5 separate regions of the Homo sapiens genome follow, and regions 2, 3, 4 and 5 are each linked to region 1. The links are contacts of gene promoters, found by promoter capture Hi-C in blood cells and fetal thymus (Javierre and others, 2016). All regions are on one chromosome and are shown on one strand. The core of a region is centred on a gene start or on the middle of the fragment in contact, and the rest is flanking DNA. Distances in the headings are between cores, read along the strand shown.

The links. Contacts are between HindIII fragments. The CHiCAGO score rates a contact against its expected background, and 5 or more counts as called.
Region 2: a contact is called between a fragment that was not itself captured here and the fragment with the promoter of ADAM10 in region 1, in 13 of 17 cell types (M2 macrophages, megakaryocytes, M0 macrophages and 10 more). The highest score is 17.8, in M2 macrophages.
Region 3: a fragment that was not itself captured here is called in contact with the fragment with the promoter of ADAM10 in region 1 in 4 of 17 cell types (total B cells, naive B cells, neutrophils and 1 more); the score reaches 8.2 in total B cells.
Region 4: a contact is called between a fragment that was not itself captured here and the fragment with the promoter of ADAM10 in region 1, in 3 of 17 cell types (megakaryocytes, erythroblasts and M1 macrophages). The highest score is 8.4, in megakaryocytes.
Region 5: a contact is called between a fragment that was not itself captured here and the fragment with the promoter of ADAM10 in region 1, in 1 of 17 cell types (non-activated CD4 T cells). The highest score is 5.2, in non-activated CD4 T cells.

Annotation. Positions count from the first base shown.
Region 1 is chr15:58,748,436-58,751,135 of GRCh38, forward strand. It overlaps ADAM10 (ADAM metallopeptidase domain 10), which reads right to left and starts at 1,272. Exons shown (of 16, transcript NM_001110.4): 1 at 1,045-1,272. The coding sequence starts at 1,099. RefSeq lists enhancers at 405-1,040, 492-621, 1,712-1,891 and silencers at 732-1,021, 1,352-1,641. The HindIII fragment of the contact is 2,079 bases long and covers 1-2,075 here.
Region 2 is chr15:58,226,817-58,229,516 of GRCh38, forward strand. All of the region lies in intron 1 of LOC124903499 (a long non-coding RNA gene), which reads left to right. Among named protein-coding and RNA genes, the nearest start is that of AQP9, 90 kb to the left of the region's middle. The HindIII fragment of the contact is 8,324 bases long and covers 1-2,700 here.
Region 3 is chr15:59,689,457-59,692,156 of GRCh38, forward strand. No RefSeq gene overlaps it. Among named protein-coding and RNA genes, the nearest start is that of BNIP2, 1.5 kb to the left of the region's middle. RefSeq lists an enhancer at 1-218 and a silencer at 1-141. The HindIII fragment of the contact is 1,281 bases long and covers 775-2,055 here.
Region 4 is chr15:58,209,131-58,211,830 of GRCh38, forward strand. No RefSeq gene overlaps it. Among named protein-coding and RNA genes, the nearest start is that of AQP9, 72 kb to the left of the region's middle. The HindIII fragment of the contact is 4,167 bases long and covers 1-2,700 here.
Region 5 is chr15:59,661,457-59,664,156 of GRCh38, forward strand. BNIP2 (BCL2 interacting protein 2) reads right to left here. Exons shown (of 10, transcript NM_004330.4): 10 at 1-2,664. The coding sequence ends at 2,613. Among named protein-coding and RNA genes, the nearest start is that of GTF2A2, 5.3 kb to the left of the region's middle. The HindIII fragment of the contact is 2,710 bases long and covers 58-2,700 here.

The DNA.
Region 1 (2,700 bases), core at 22-2,521:
TACCTAAAATAAAGCACTTTAAGCAAGAATAAAATGATGCAGCTGGTCCTAGAACACACCGGAAATAAAAATCGTTGTCTTCAAAACCCGAAACAAGAAATGACATGCTTTTAGCAAATTTGACTTTCATGTGCAGGGGGGAGGGGGCACTGTTTTGACAATCCACTAACTACACTGTACATCTACTCCACCTGAAAGTTTAACGAAACTCTTCAAGTTGGGTCACCCAGGGACCGAACTTCTACTCTAAGAGACCCAATCCAGCCTACAAATCAAAGAACATCCCCAAATGGTTTACCCTTCTCCCGACCAAACCCTTTCCCCTGGGCGACAGAATGTTTTCAAGAACACCAACACACCCTCCTGTGATCTCTCTCCAAACACAGGACACAGGAAGAACCGAGGCCACTAGTCTCAGATAAGCGGGTGATGACTGCTGCCACTCCACGGGCGGCCCCTCTGCAGAATGGGGTCGGTCAGGACCGGCGCGCCGGGTAAAGAACAATACACGAGCCCAGCTGCAAACAACACAACTTCCCACGAGTCTGCGCGGCGGGTCTCGGCGGCGGAGAGGACTTCGGAATCCGCCACCGGGCAGGGGCTGGGGGAGGAATGGTGAGCAGGATGAGCGCTGAACGAGGACGGCGAGACCGCCAGCCTCGCTGCGGCTGCCTGCACCGGCGCCCGCCGAGCAGACTGGAGGGATGCAGCCACCAGCCTGGGTTCCACCGCTCTCACCAGGCGACGCGGATGCCCCGACTTCGCTTCTCTGGGAGGCGACCCCCGCCTCCCGGGGCCGCCAGGGCGGTGGGGGGCGGGGAAGGCCTCGCCGGAGGCTTGGGAGCCTCCTCGGCCCGCCACCGAAGGGAAAGCGGTCGGGGCGCGGGGGACAATAGGGAGCGGGGAGCGCGGCCCGCCAGAGTGGCGCCGCTGGCCGGCTGGGCTGACTGACGCGCACGCCGCGAGGCGCGACTGGGCTCCGCTCGGCCCGGCCGCCGCTCCGCCGTGGTCGCGGCGCCCCCGGCGCTCGCAGTCGTGCCTCACCTCCCATCCCCGCCGCCCAGGAGAGGAGCAGAATTAACACTCTCAGCAACACCATCTTCCGCTGCCGCTGCCGCCGCCGCCGCCTCCTCACGGGTTAACAGCAGCACATCGATCCGGAGGGAGAAGCTGAAGGGGCTTGGTCCGGAGCCTCCACGGGAAGCCGGGACCTCCCCTGGCAGGAGAAACGGCGAAGCACCTCCCTCTCGCTCCACTTCAGGGGCCGGCAACGCTCCTAGCTCCTCCAAAACAGGGACCTCCCTCCCCCTCGTTCGTTTCCTTCCTCCTTTCCCCGCTTTCCTTCCCTTGCTCGTTCCCTCTTCTCTCCCCCCCTCCTTCGAAACTCAGACCTCCGCCTCCTTCCTCACCACGTGACGCGCGGGCACCCAACTGGCACGCGGAGCCGCGCCCCTACCTCCCGCCCCTACCCGTCCCCCAGGCGCTTCAGGGGCGCGCGCATGCGCGCGGGGGACGGTTCCCGTGCTGCTAGGCCTGCCGCCGCTTCCTGTCCGCCGGCGGAGAGCTGGGATTGGGCTTGGGAGGCGGGGTTTGTCCTGGTCCCGCCCCGGGGCGGGAGCGCTCCTACGCGGAGATAGTGCTCCGCTACGTGTTAGAGCTGCTGAGGACCTTCCCTTGGGCTAAAATGGTCCGTGGAAGATGTAAGCAGGGCTGCTTTCGACTTCTTAACGTCACAAGTAACAGAGGTTTTTTTTCTTCTTTTTCTGCCTCTCTTGGTGCACCACAGCTACCAAGTAAACAAAAAGTCCCAACAAGCAGTAATTATAGCGGCAGCTGCCCCAGTGATGCGAACATAAATGCAAAGACCTTCAAGCAGCAGGAAAAAAAGACACCATGTCCGAGATGTAATTTTCCGAGCTCTTTACAAATTTATGTCACAGACTAAGGCTTTAGCCTTTGCAAAAGCATGCAACCTGAACCAGACTGTCTTGAATCTCCAGTCCAGAAAATGTCCTCTTTTCTCTCTGTCACATCTTTGAAGCGAATCCACGCACATCTTCTCCCCAACTTCTTAAAGCTTGTGTTTGTTTTCTCGTAACTCATTTTGATTCTTTAAACTTGGATGTCATGAACTAGAACTTTTTATGGCCATTTAATTAGATATTCTTCATCTATTTGGTATCGTGCTTGAGTAGGCCGAATTAGGGAGAGTGTGTGTGTGCGTGTGTGTGTGTGTGTATGTGTAAATTGTTTTGTTTTGCTTTCTAAAGACAAGGTCTCCGCTGTCTCGCCAGGCTGAAGTGCAGTGGTGTGATCATAGCTCACTGTAACCTCCAACTCAAGCCGAATTAGGGAGAGTGTGTGTGTGTGTGTGTGTGTGTAAATTGTTTTGTTTTGCTTTCTAAAGACAAGGTATCCGCTGTCTCGCCAGGCTGAAGTGCAGTGGTGTGATCATAGCTCACTGTAACCTCCAACTCAAGCGATCCTCCCGCCTCGGCCTCCCACAAGTGCTGGGATTACAGGCGTGAGCCACTGCGCTCGGCCTTAATGTTATTGATACTGTAATAAACTGGAATTCCTATACTGTTACCTGTATATTTTATACCATTTATTACCATTAACATAAGTGAAGAGAATTTTTTTTTTTTTGAGACGGAGTTTCGCTCTCGTTGCCCAGGCTGGGGTGCAATGGTGTGATCT
Region 2 (2,700 bases), core at 124-2,623, 520 kb before region 1:
GGGTGACAGGCTCTGGATCCCATCCCCACCCCAGAGAATCCCACACCCAGTCTAGGCCAGGTGCCTGTTCTACTCTGGTGCAGGCTGCTTTAGCCACTGTTGGGGAAGGGAAAAGCTGGGCGTGTGGAGAGTGAGGGTTGGGGGCTTGCAAGGGGTCCTGGCAAGTGAGAAGACCAGTGGGCTCAGAGGGAATTAGAATTCCGTGATATATTCCAAGGAAACTCAGGCCTAGGATCTAAATGGAGAATGGAATGCAGCCAGGGGCTGGGAAGTATGAACTGGAATCTTTGCCTTCAATTTGCACATGATAACAATGCCCCTGAGACTAACATCTGGATAACAGAGCACTTGTACACACAGCATCTTGTTTGACTCTTATACCCACCTGGTAACATATAATTATGATCTCAATTTTACAGACCAGGAAAGCTAGCCCTAGGGAAGTGAAATGACTTTCCCCAAAGAAGCAGCAATAAGTGGGCTTTGAGTCTTCTGATCCCAGAGTATGTTGATGATAAAATAACTCATGAACTTTAGCAATTATTTCAGAATTCTCATGCTGCGGAATTAACAAAATAAAAAGAAAATAAAGAATATATAAGAAAAAAAGATGTACCTATGTAAAAGCAACCCCACTTACATCCCCTAGTGTGAACTCCTAATCCTTGGGCCTAAAAATTGTGGAACTCGGTATGATAATGGACATGATGAATTGTGTCTGATTAATAAATTTCTTACAAGTTTTATTTATTATAACCTAAAAAAATCTATACACATGATATTTTCACACGTCATGTTCTTCATGGTATCTGCTTACAATAGTTGCATATTCTCTAAGGGACTGCAGTATTCAATTATTTTATTAGGTTCATAATACTTCACAAGATAAAGCATAAAGCAAATATAAAGAGATGGTTTTTGCTCCAAATTGATGCTGAATTCTAAATAAGGACGATAGTATGTGACAAATTAATATCTTTATAATTTGGCTTGTAAGATACAATTCCCAAAAGTGAGGCTCTTACCACACACAAAAATATGGAGACGGGAGGGAGGAACCCGACTTAATTTAGGTACACTGCCACCAGGTGGAGGCAGAGTGCCACGGACTGTGAAGTCCAAAACAATAGGTGGAGGATTTGTTAAAATTACAGACTGTAGCTCTGGGTTCAAACCCTACAGACTTGTAATCACAAACGTTTCCATTTTTTATGTATTAGAAACATTTACTGGAAAATAAAATTCAAGCTAGCGATATACAAACATTTAAAATAGCTCTTTAGAAGGACTTTACAAACTAAAACTATAGTTATACATCTTTCCCTTCAATCTCTTAAGGTTCTTTTTCTCACAAACACCTTCAAAGAAGGTGACTATTGATCCCTCCTAATGTTGTTTTAGTGTGAAACCCCTAAGATATCTGGAATGGGTTTGGTGAAAACTTCCAAAGCTCCATTTCAAGCTCTGACCTCTTAGTCTCTCCTTCTCTCAGCCAGTATAAGAAATAGCGGTGAAGGGAATTGGAAGGATAGTGGTGGTGAAGGCTATGGAGGGAGACCGACTGTCCCAGTTTACCCAACACTGCCCCAGTGTTAGCACTGAAAGTCCCACACCCAGGGGCACCCCTACTCCCAAGCAGACCAAAAGAAAAATATAGGCTTTCATTTCAGACTTGCTGCTCTAAGACCTTCATCTCTTCCCAATAGAAAAAAGCCAAATACTCCCCTATCTGATGAACCCCTCGAATCTCATGTATAAAAACCCTCCTTCGGTGTGAGTCTTTGCTGTGAGGTTAAGATTGTGCTTTGTATTTTAGGTGGAGGCAGGTATGATGTGTAGTAGATACACAAATGTATAGAGGCTGGTGAAGTTGCAGCGGGGAGCAGGTAGACCAGCTGTTTCAGGTAAACAGACAGGTCCTCAAGGAAGTCCCTCAGTTTATCATGCCAACCTCTTTGGACACCTTGAGGCCTCTGATGAGGCTGCTGGTGGCAGGGAAGCAGGAGAGAATCTGCTCCAGCTGACACAGGATGTGACTCTGGAACAGAGGCTGGAGGCTCCTGGAAGGGATATATTTAGCCCAGCTCTGTTAATAGCTGACCCCTTGGATTGCCTCAGGAATGTAGCAGGCAGAGTTCTTCATGGTGAAATAAGACGTACAGGCTTACAACTTGAAAAGAAAACTCTTCAAGGAATGACCTTACAAAGAATGACTCCACAGGGACCAGATGAAAATGTTAATGTTATTTTGTGCATTGCTTTCCTGAGCACTTTATATCCATTATATTCATTTCCTGTATTCTTTCATGTAATTGGTACAACCATAATTTAGCTTTTCTTCAGGGCAAGAGTTCTTTGTCAAGTTCATGTTCTCGGGCAGAGTCCTAACAAATCCTGCAGGTATACTACACCTGGTACCTGCCGACGCCTATTGAGGAGGAAAGCCACAGGATGTGGTAACATTCTCAAAAACAGAGATCTAGTTAGAATTACCTCCAAATCCTGCAAAGAATGAAACGGAGATGCTGACCATGGGAGCAATGTCCCACTGGGATGGCAGGGAGATCTCACGTGGTGCCTACCAGGGAGGGGGGTGGGGGGCGGAGTTGGGGGCGGGGGGAGCACGGGAGTTCCGAGTGCTGAAGACTGCAATGGGAACAGACAAGGAACAAGGCGACACAATGGCACAAACAATGCTAG
Region 3 (2,700 bases), core at 165-2,664, 940 kb after region 1:
GACGTCACGGGCTAGCGCTCGCGCCTGCACTCGCGGGGTCGGCCTTCCTTGCCTGTGGGCGGACCCGTCGCGTCGACTCCTTATTGGTGGCGTTACTACGCCTCAAGGCGTTTCTTCCCTCTTTGCTGTTCGCAGGGACGCTGCCTGGTAGTTTCAGTTACTTTTGTTTTCTTTCTGCCTGCCTTTATTGATCATTACAGTAGGTGAAATTATCGATATCAATAATAATATTGTAATACAATAGGTGCAATTATCAATATCAATATTATTACAACAGGTGCAATTATCAGTATCATTACAATAGGTGCAATTATCAGCGATCAATAATGTGAATTATAAAATGGATGAAATAAGGGGAGGAGGTCGGGCGCGGTGGTTTACGCTTGTAATCCCAGCACTTTGGGAGGGCGAGGCGGGTGGATTACCGGAGGTCAAGAGCTCGAGACCAGCCTGGCCAACATGGTGACACCTCGTCTCTACTAAACAAACAAAAATTAGCTGGGCGTGGTGGCGCGCGTCTGTAATCCCAACTACTCAGGAGGCGAGGGCGGAGGCGGAGGCGGAGTTGGAGTTTGCAGTGAGCCGAGATCGTGCCATTGCACTCCAGCTTGGGCAACAGAGCAAAAACTCCGTCTCAAATAAAAGGAAAAAGGAAAAAAAAAAAAAAAGAAAAAGAAAAAAAAGAAATAAGGCGAGGAAAAATATCCGAGGCATCATTTTGGGGAGTTAGGCCTCAGAAGCGACCTTAGAGTTTGGTAATATTTGAGTGTGAAAAGCTTTACAGCAGTGCTTCTCTTCACTGGGGGAACGGTCGGTTTATTTTTTTCAATTTTCAATTAGTTTTTGACAAGTTAATAAAACAGAAAAATGAAAAGACATACAAAGTCCAAGTCAAAACTTTTTATCGTTAGAGTTAACAGCCATAAAATTACCTGCAAAATTGACATAGAGTTTTCTACTCTCTCTCTGTGAACCATTTGCAAACAGTTCTCAGAAGAGCCCAGGTCTATAGACCATGGTTAGAGTACTCAAGGTAAACTACTCAAATTAGACCATACTCAGCTGTAGAGTTTCAACCAAATGAGATTTGTTTGGAGAACATCATAGTCTCTCTCAGTTGGGCGTGCTGGCTCATGACTGTAATCCCAGCACTTTGAGAGGCCGAGTCGGTAGATCGCCAGACCTCAGGGCAACATGGCGAGACCCCATCTCTTAAAAAAAAAAAAAAAAAAAGAGACAGAGAAAGAAAGAAAGAAAAAGAAGCAAAGAGAAAGAAAGGAAGAAAGAAAGAAAAGAAGAAAATTAGGTGGGCTTGGTGGCATGCACCTGTGGTCCCAGCCACTTGGGAGGCTGAGGTGGGAGACTCTCTGGAGCCTGGCAGGCGGCGGTTGTAGTGAGCCAAGATCGCGCCACTCCACTCCAGCCTGGGTGACAGCGAAACCCTGTCTTAAAAAAAAAAAAAAGTCCCTTTCCAAAGTTTCATCTGATAAATCCATAGAAAGGCTCAGCATCAAGTATTTGGGTGATTCCATTGGGGTACGATCAGGCCTGAGGGGAACAGAAAAGCTCAAAATTTTAAATCATTGACTAAAAATGCAGCATTCTGCCTGGATTTCACATTGCTTTGGCAACATTTACCCACCATTGGTAGATTAAAGTCCGTCTCTTTGATAAAATGGGAAGAAAATAGTACCTACCTTATAGGGTTTTTGTGAGATGAATTCATATATATGTATTAGGACCTTGGTTGTCATATTGTAATCACATTTAAGTATTAGGTATTCTTTTTATCCTAGTCTAGCAATTTCACTAAATAGCTAGTAGAGAAAACAAAACTGATCAACAGAGCTTTAGCTAAACAACTACTTGGGCCAAGAAATTTCATCTTGATTTACAGAAGTTTTTGTAGTTTCATACTTTGCTTCTTCAGTTCTGCAATGTGCAGAATTCCCCACAGGGTGGCAGAAAATCACTGGAAATCATATATAGTTATGTGATTTCTTTTTTTTAAGATCTTCAGTTCCTTCTTCATTTTAGTAACTTTATTATTTAATAAGCTTGATCAGTGTTTGCTTTGGTTTCGAGTAAGCCATCCTATTACTTATCTTTTTATCCCTATCTTGTTAATTATCCATACTTATTGTTGAAACATTACAAACTACAAGTAAGCCAAAAAGATAATTATTATTAACATATTTATGTATAGCCTTTCAGATTATATATATATATATATTCACACACATATATATTTTATGTATAAATTGCACATATAAGTCTTTATAAAAATCAGATAATGTACTTAGTGGTTTATAATCTCCATTTTCTTCTTTTCATTTAAAATATGAGCTGGGTGCAGTGGCTCACACCTGTAATCCCAGCACTTTGGGAGGCTGAGGTGGGTGGATCACCCGAGGTCAGGAGTTCGAGACCAGCCTGGCCAACGTGGAGAAACCACGTCTCTACTAAAATTACAAATATCAGCTGGGTATGGTGGTGGGCACCTGTAATCCCAGCTGCTTGGGGGTGCTGAGGTAGGAGAATCACGTGAACTCAGGAGGTGGAGGTTGCAGTGAGCCAAAATCACACCATGCACTCTAGCTTGGGCAACAGAGTGAGACTGTGTCTCAAAAATAAATAAATAAATAAAAATACAGATTCTGAGGCTTCACCCTCTACAGTCTATGGAAAGATATGGGAATC
Region 4 (2,700 bases), core at 37-2,536, 540 kb before region 1:
AGCGGAGGCCTCTAGGATTTTGGAGCAAGGCCCTGCCATCTTCTGCAGATAACTACTCTCCTTGGGAGAGACAGCTCTTGGCCTGTTATTGGGCTTTGGCATAAACTGAACATTTGACTATGAATCATCAAGTCACCATGTGACCTAAACTGCCTATTAAGAACAGAGTACTTTCTGACCCATCTAGCCATAAAGTGGGTCATGCACAGCAGCATTCCGTCATCAAAGGAAGTGGTACATATGTGATCAGGCTCAAGCAGGTCCTGAAGGCACAAACAAGTTACTTGAGGAAGTAACTCAAATGCCCATGGTCTCCACTCCTGCCACCCTGCCTTCTCTCTCGTAGCCTGCACCGACGGCCTCATGGGGAGTTCCCTATGATCACCTGACAGAGGAAGAGAAGACAGTGGAATGGCCTTTTGAAGTAACAATTACAATGCCAACTAGGTGACAATACTTTGAGGGGCTGGGGTAAAGTTCTCCAGAAGGCTGTGTATGCTCTGAATCAGCATCCAGTATATGGCACTGTTTCTCCCATAGCTAGGATTCATGGGTCCAGGAATTAAGGGGTGGAAGTGGAAGTGGCACCATTCACCATCACCCCTAGTGATCCACTAGCAAAATTTTTGCTTCCTGTTCCCAGGACATTACTCTCTACTGGCCTAGAGGTCTTTGTTCCAGAGGGAGGAACCCTGCCACGAGGAAACACAACAATGATTCCATTAAACTGGAAGTTAAGATTGCCACCTGGACTCTTTGGGCTCCTCCTAGCTTTAAGGCAACAGGCTAAGAATGGAGTTACAGTATTGGCTGGGGTGGTTGACCCGGACTATCAAGATGAAATCAGTCTACTACTACACAACAGAGGTAAGGAAAAGTATGCATGGAATACAGGAGATTCATTAGGGTGTCTCTTAGTATTACCATGCCCTGTGATTAAGGTCAATGGGAAACTACAACAGCCCAATTCAGGCAGGACTACAAATGACTCAGACCCTTCAGGAATGAAGGTTTGGGTCATTCCACCAGGAAAAAACCACGACCTGCTGAGGTGCTTGCTGAAGGCTAAGGGAATACAGAATGGGTAGTAGAAGAAGGTAGTCATCAATACCAACTACGACCACATGACCAGCTGCAGAAACAAGGACTGTTTAACTGTCATGAGTATTTCCTCCTTTTGTTAAAAACATGTTTGTGCATGTATATACTTGTACTAAGAAAATATCTTCATTTTATTTCCCTTCTCCTTTATCACGTGACATAAGATTTTATTGATTTCCCATCCGCATTTAAGCATTGTTAACTTTAAGTAATAGTATTTGGGTTGGGGATTGGTGTGTTTCCGGTTGTATGAAGAATAGTTGCATTATGTTAGGCATAATTATGACCTTATTATTGTCTTTATTTGAAGATTATGTATGACCTCAGGAGATGTGTGTGGGTTCAAGTTGACAAGAGGTGGACTTGCGATGGTTAATACTGAGTGTCAACTTGATTGGACTGAAGGATGTAAAGTCTTGATACTGGGTGTGTCTGTGAGGGTGTTGCCAAAGGAGATTAACATTTGAGTCAGTGGGTTGGGGAAGGCAGATGACCCTTAATGTGGGTGGGCATAATCTAATCAGCTGCCAGCACAGCTAGAGTATAAGCAGGCAGAAAAATGTGAAAAGAGAGGCTGGTCTAGCCTCCCAGGCTACATCTTTCTCCCGTGCTGGATGCTTCCTGCCCTCAAACATCAGATTCCAGGTTCTTCAGTTTTGGGACTTGGACAGGCTCTCCTTGCTCCTCAGCTTGCAGATAGCCTGTTGTGGGACTCTGTCACACAATAAACCCATATATATATATATATTCCAAGGACTCTTTCATGTCTTATGTTATATACCCAGGCATTTCCTCTCAACTTTTTATTTTGAAAAATTTCAAGTGTATAGAAAAGATAAAGGAATTGAACTATATATATATATATATATATATATATATATATATATATGAGTTTATTAAGTATTAACTTACACCAGAGCACTCCAACACCAGCTGCCAAATGACTGCAAATGCAAGCGATATTCAAAGGGAGACAAATGGAAGAATCACCTAGCCGAATCCAGTCAACACACACTATCATGAGAGATAATAATGCAGTAAATTATTTTTTAAGCAACTGCATTTGGGTGATTTGTTATACAGCAATATTGTATTAGTCAGGGTTCTCTAGAGGGACAGAACTAGTAGGAGACATGTCTCCTACTAGTTCTATCCCTGTAGAGAACCCTGAATAATATATATATGTCTATATATATTAGACATATATATATGTAACCCTGACTATATATACACACACACACATATATATATATATATGTCTTCTACTAGTTCTGTCCCTCTAGAGAACCCTGACACCAGTTGGCAGCTGGTGCTGGAGTACTCTGGAGACCCACGGGGCTGGAACATCCAACATGGCTTCTCCACGTTCTTCTCCATGTGGTATCGCATGCCCCGGTATCTCATCTCTCCAGCAGGCTAGCTGAACTTCTTTTTTTTTTTTTTTTTTTTTTTTTTTTTGAGACAGAGTCTTACTCTGTCACCCAGGCTGGAGTGCAATGGCACGATCTCAGCTCACTGCAACATTTGCCTCCCAGGTTCAAGCAATTCTGCTGCCTCAGTCTCCTGAGTAGCTAGGATTACAGGCGTGCGCCACCACGC
Region 5 (2,700 bases), core at 163-2,662, 910 kb after region 1:
CTAGACCCTACTTAGAATCATATTTCTTCATATCTCCCTCTGAGTTAAAGATTGTTAAGCTTAAATTGTGGGGTGAATAGAACGTCTTCCCTTGGTGCTTGCTTAGGAGTATGATCAAGCAGAACACAGAATCAAATTATTTCACATGAAAAACTTCTGACTAAAAAAGGGGCACTTAGAGCCTAGTGACAGAAGCATCAAATTAAGCCAGTTAAATTAGATCCATGATCCCAACAGAAAGATAAAAGTACAATCACATATACTTTCACCTTGGTCAGTAATGGGAAATTAAAATGGAATAATATGGGAAATGTTAACTTAGCTATAGATTAGAAACAACAGACTTAATAAATGCTCTTCCTCTAACCTACTATTATGATCTTAAATCTTATAAAACATTTATTGTGGGTACATCTCTATACCAGATTCCATTAAGGTGCAGGTTAAAGCAGGTATCCCTTTAGTTTACTGATTCACAGCACCTCATTTTCATTATATCCCAGGTGTTATCACTGTTGTCTCTGAATTTTAATGTTTAACAGAATAGTCTTCTACTTTTAAAAAAAATTCAGAAAAACATCACTTTTGCAACATGTATCTACAGTTAGGAGCAATGACTGCAAAATCAAAAATCAAAATAATGCAAAAAAGAGTTGAAGTTATTCTTCATATTTTTTAAACTGAAGAACCAAGTACTTAATGTGGTAGAAAACCACCTATTAAAAACCTCAGCCCATTTTGAGCAAGATAAAGATGTACAGATGAAAGACTACGTTAAATCGTCTACAAATATAGAATCTAATGACAAATTCAATATAATTGTTTATACATAATCCTTATATGGTAAATTCAGAAGGAATGCCTAACTTGTTATTGTTAGTTTGCTTCTTCAACAACAAGTGTTCCTAAAATGTGAGCAAGCAATAATCGTTTTGGCTCAATTCACTGTAATGACATTAGTTCAGGATCTGCCAAGAGCTGCTGGATCTGAGTTAAGTCAGGAGGCTGCTGAGGAATGTTTCATCCTGGGAATCCTCCAGCATCTCTCTCCTATAACTGGTTTTAAGTTAGCATGCCAAGTTTAGGACTGAGGAGGACAAAAAATATAGGAAAGTTCCCTTTTGTAACAGAAGGTTTGTAAGTACATGAGAATGGTCACAGCCACATGTGTGTTCAATCTAGGATAGACTAAATCTTGAAAGGTTAGCTCACATCCACTTCAATTTTGCTACTCTAGGCCACTGTTTTGTAAAATACCTTACAGGAAGGGTTGAAGAGTAGCCATGACCTTCAAATTTGGAAGGTATTATGCTTACCAGCTGTGTATGAGCCTTTCAAGTATATGACACAATATCAGATCAATCTGTTGTTTTAGAAATAATTTTGTCGGTAATTAAACTTTTTGTTTGGAGGCACAAACACAATTTATTTCAATGTAAAGGTACTACCAAATGAAACAGTTTAAATGCTTGTAACAAACGTGTTATCCAAAACAGCACAATATGATGATGCTAAGACTTACAAAATTAACCTAATTTACAGTATTGTCAAACATGATTTCATACAAACTTGAATAAACACCACATCTAACTAGGTCAAACAACTACCGAGTTCAAATAATTGATATGGAAGTATTTTGGTAAAGTGCCCATAGTGAGAGTTTAAAAAGCAGCCCCTGTTTTCTATAGAAAAAGTTGTGACAGTGAATAACTCATCACATTCTCTGCAATACTACTCAGCACTCATATACACTCAGGGGAGCAATACCCTGGACACATAGCTTATTTCACATTAGTGAACAAACTCAAGATTTTTATAAAGTTCTGACTTTGGGCCAGAAGATAAAATGTCCCATATATACATATATACAAACCCTAATTCCTACCCTCTTAAATCCTCTAGTTCTAAGAATGGCTTTTTGACTTGTCTTTAAGTTTAGAAAGGAAAAAGTGTGCAATGCGCTTGCATCTGTACTTGCTGAATTATGAAACAAATATGTTAAATGAGAAAAAAACCTTGGGATGGTACTAATACACTTCGATTATATACATGATCTTTGGGTATTCATGACAATCAGTTTAACCATCTGTTGCCTTATGAAAAACTTAATTTCCTAAGTTACCCAGGAAATGTATTTAACCATTTACAAAAACAAAAATTCTAATATGCACTTTAGAAAATCGTGGTCTTATATACCTGCATATTTCTTCCATAAGACAGGTACACATTAAAAAATATTGCTCAATGACATAAAAATATATATTATTTCTTTCCTTTGCCATTTATGCATATAAATATTTCACCGAAGAAGATGCATCATTCAATAAACAAATGCAAAAACTACTTTATATAAAGTGTGGTTCTCTATTTAGCAATATAAAATATAAAACGATAATAATACAGTTAGCTATTAAAGAGCTAAATTCAAGAAATTTGCAAACCAGTACAGCAGTGAACAGTCCCTTGTATAATACAAAAGTCCATTATGAAAAAGTCAAGTCTATTTTGTAACAGGTTACATAAAAATATGGGCCAATAAATGCATTATGAATGCAGAAACAGCACTGCTCCATCAGCACATTCTTCAGTCTTGTTTGGACTAGATGCCAAACTTACTGTTCATTTTTCGGTTCATCTTGTTTTCCATTAAGTTCTTGATCAACTCTGTTTAATGAAGAATATATAAAATAAGAAACCAGC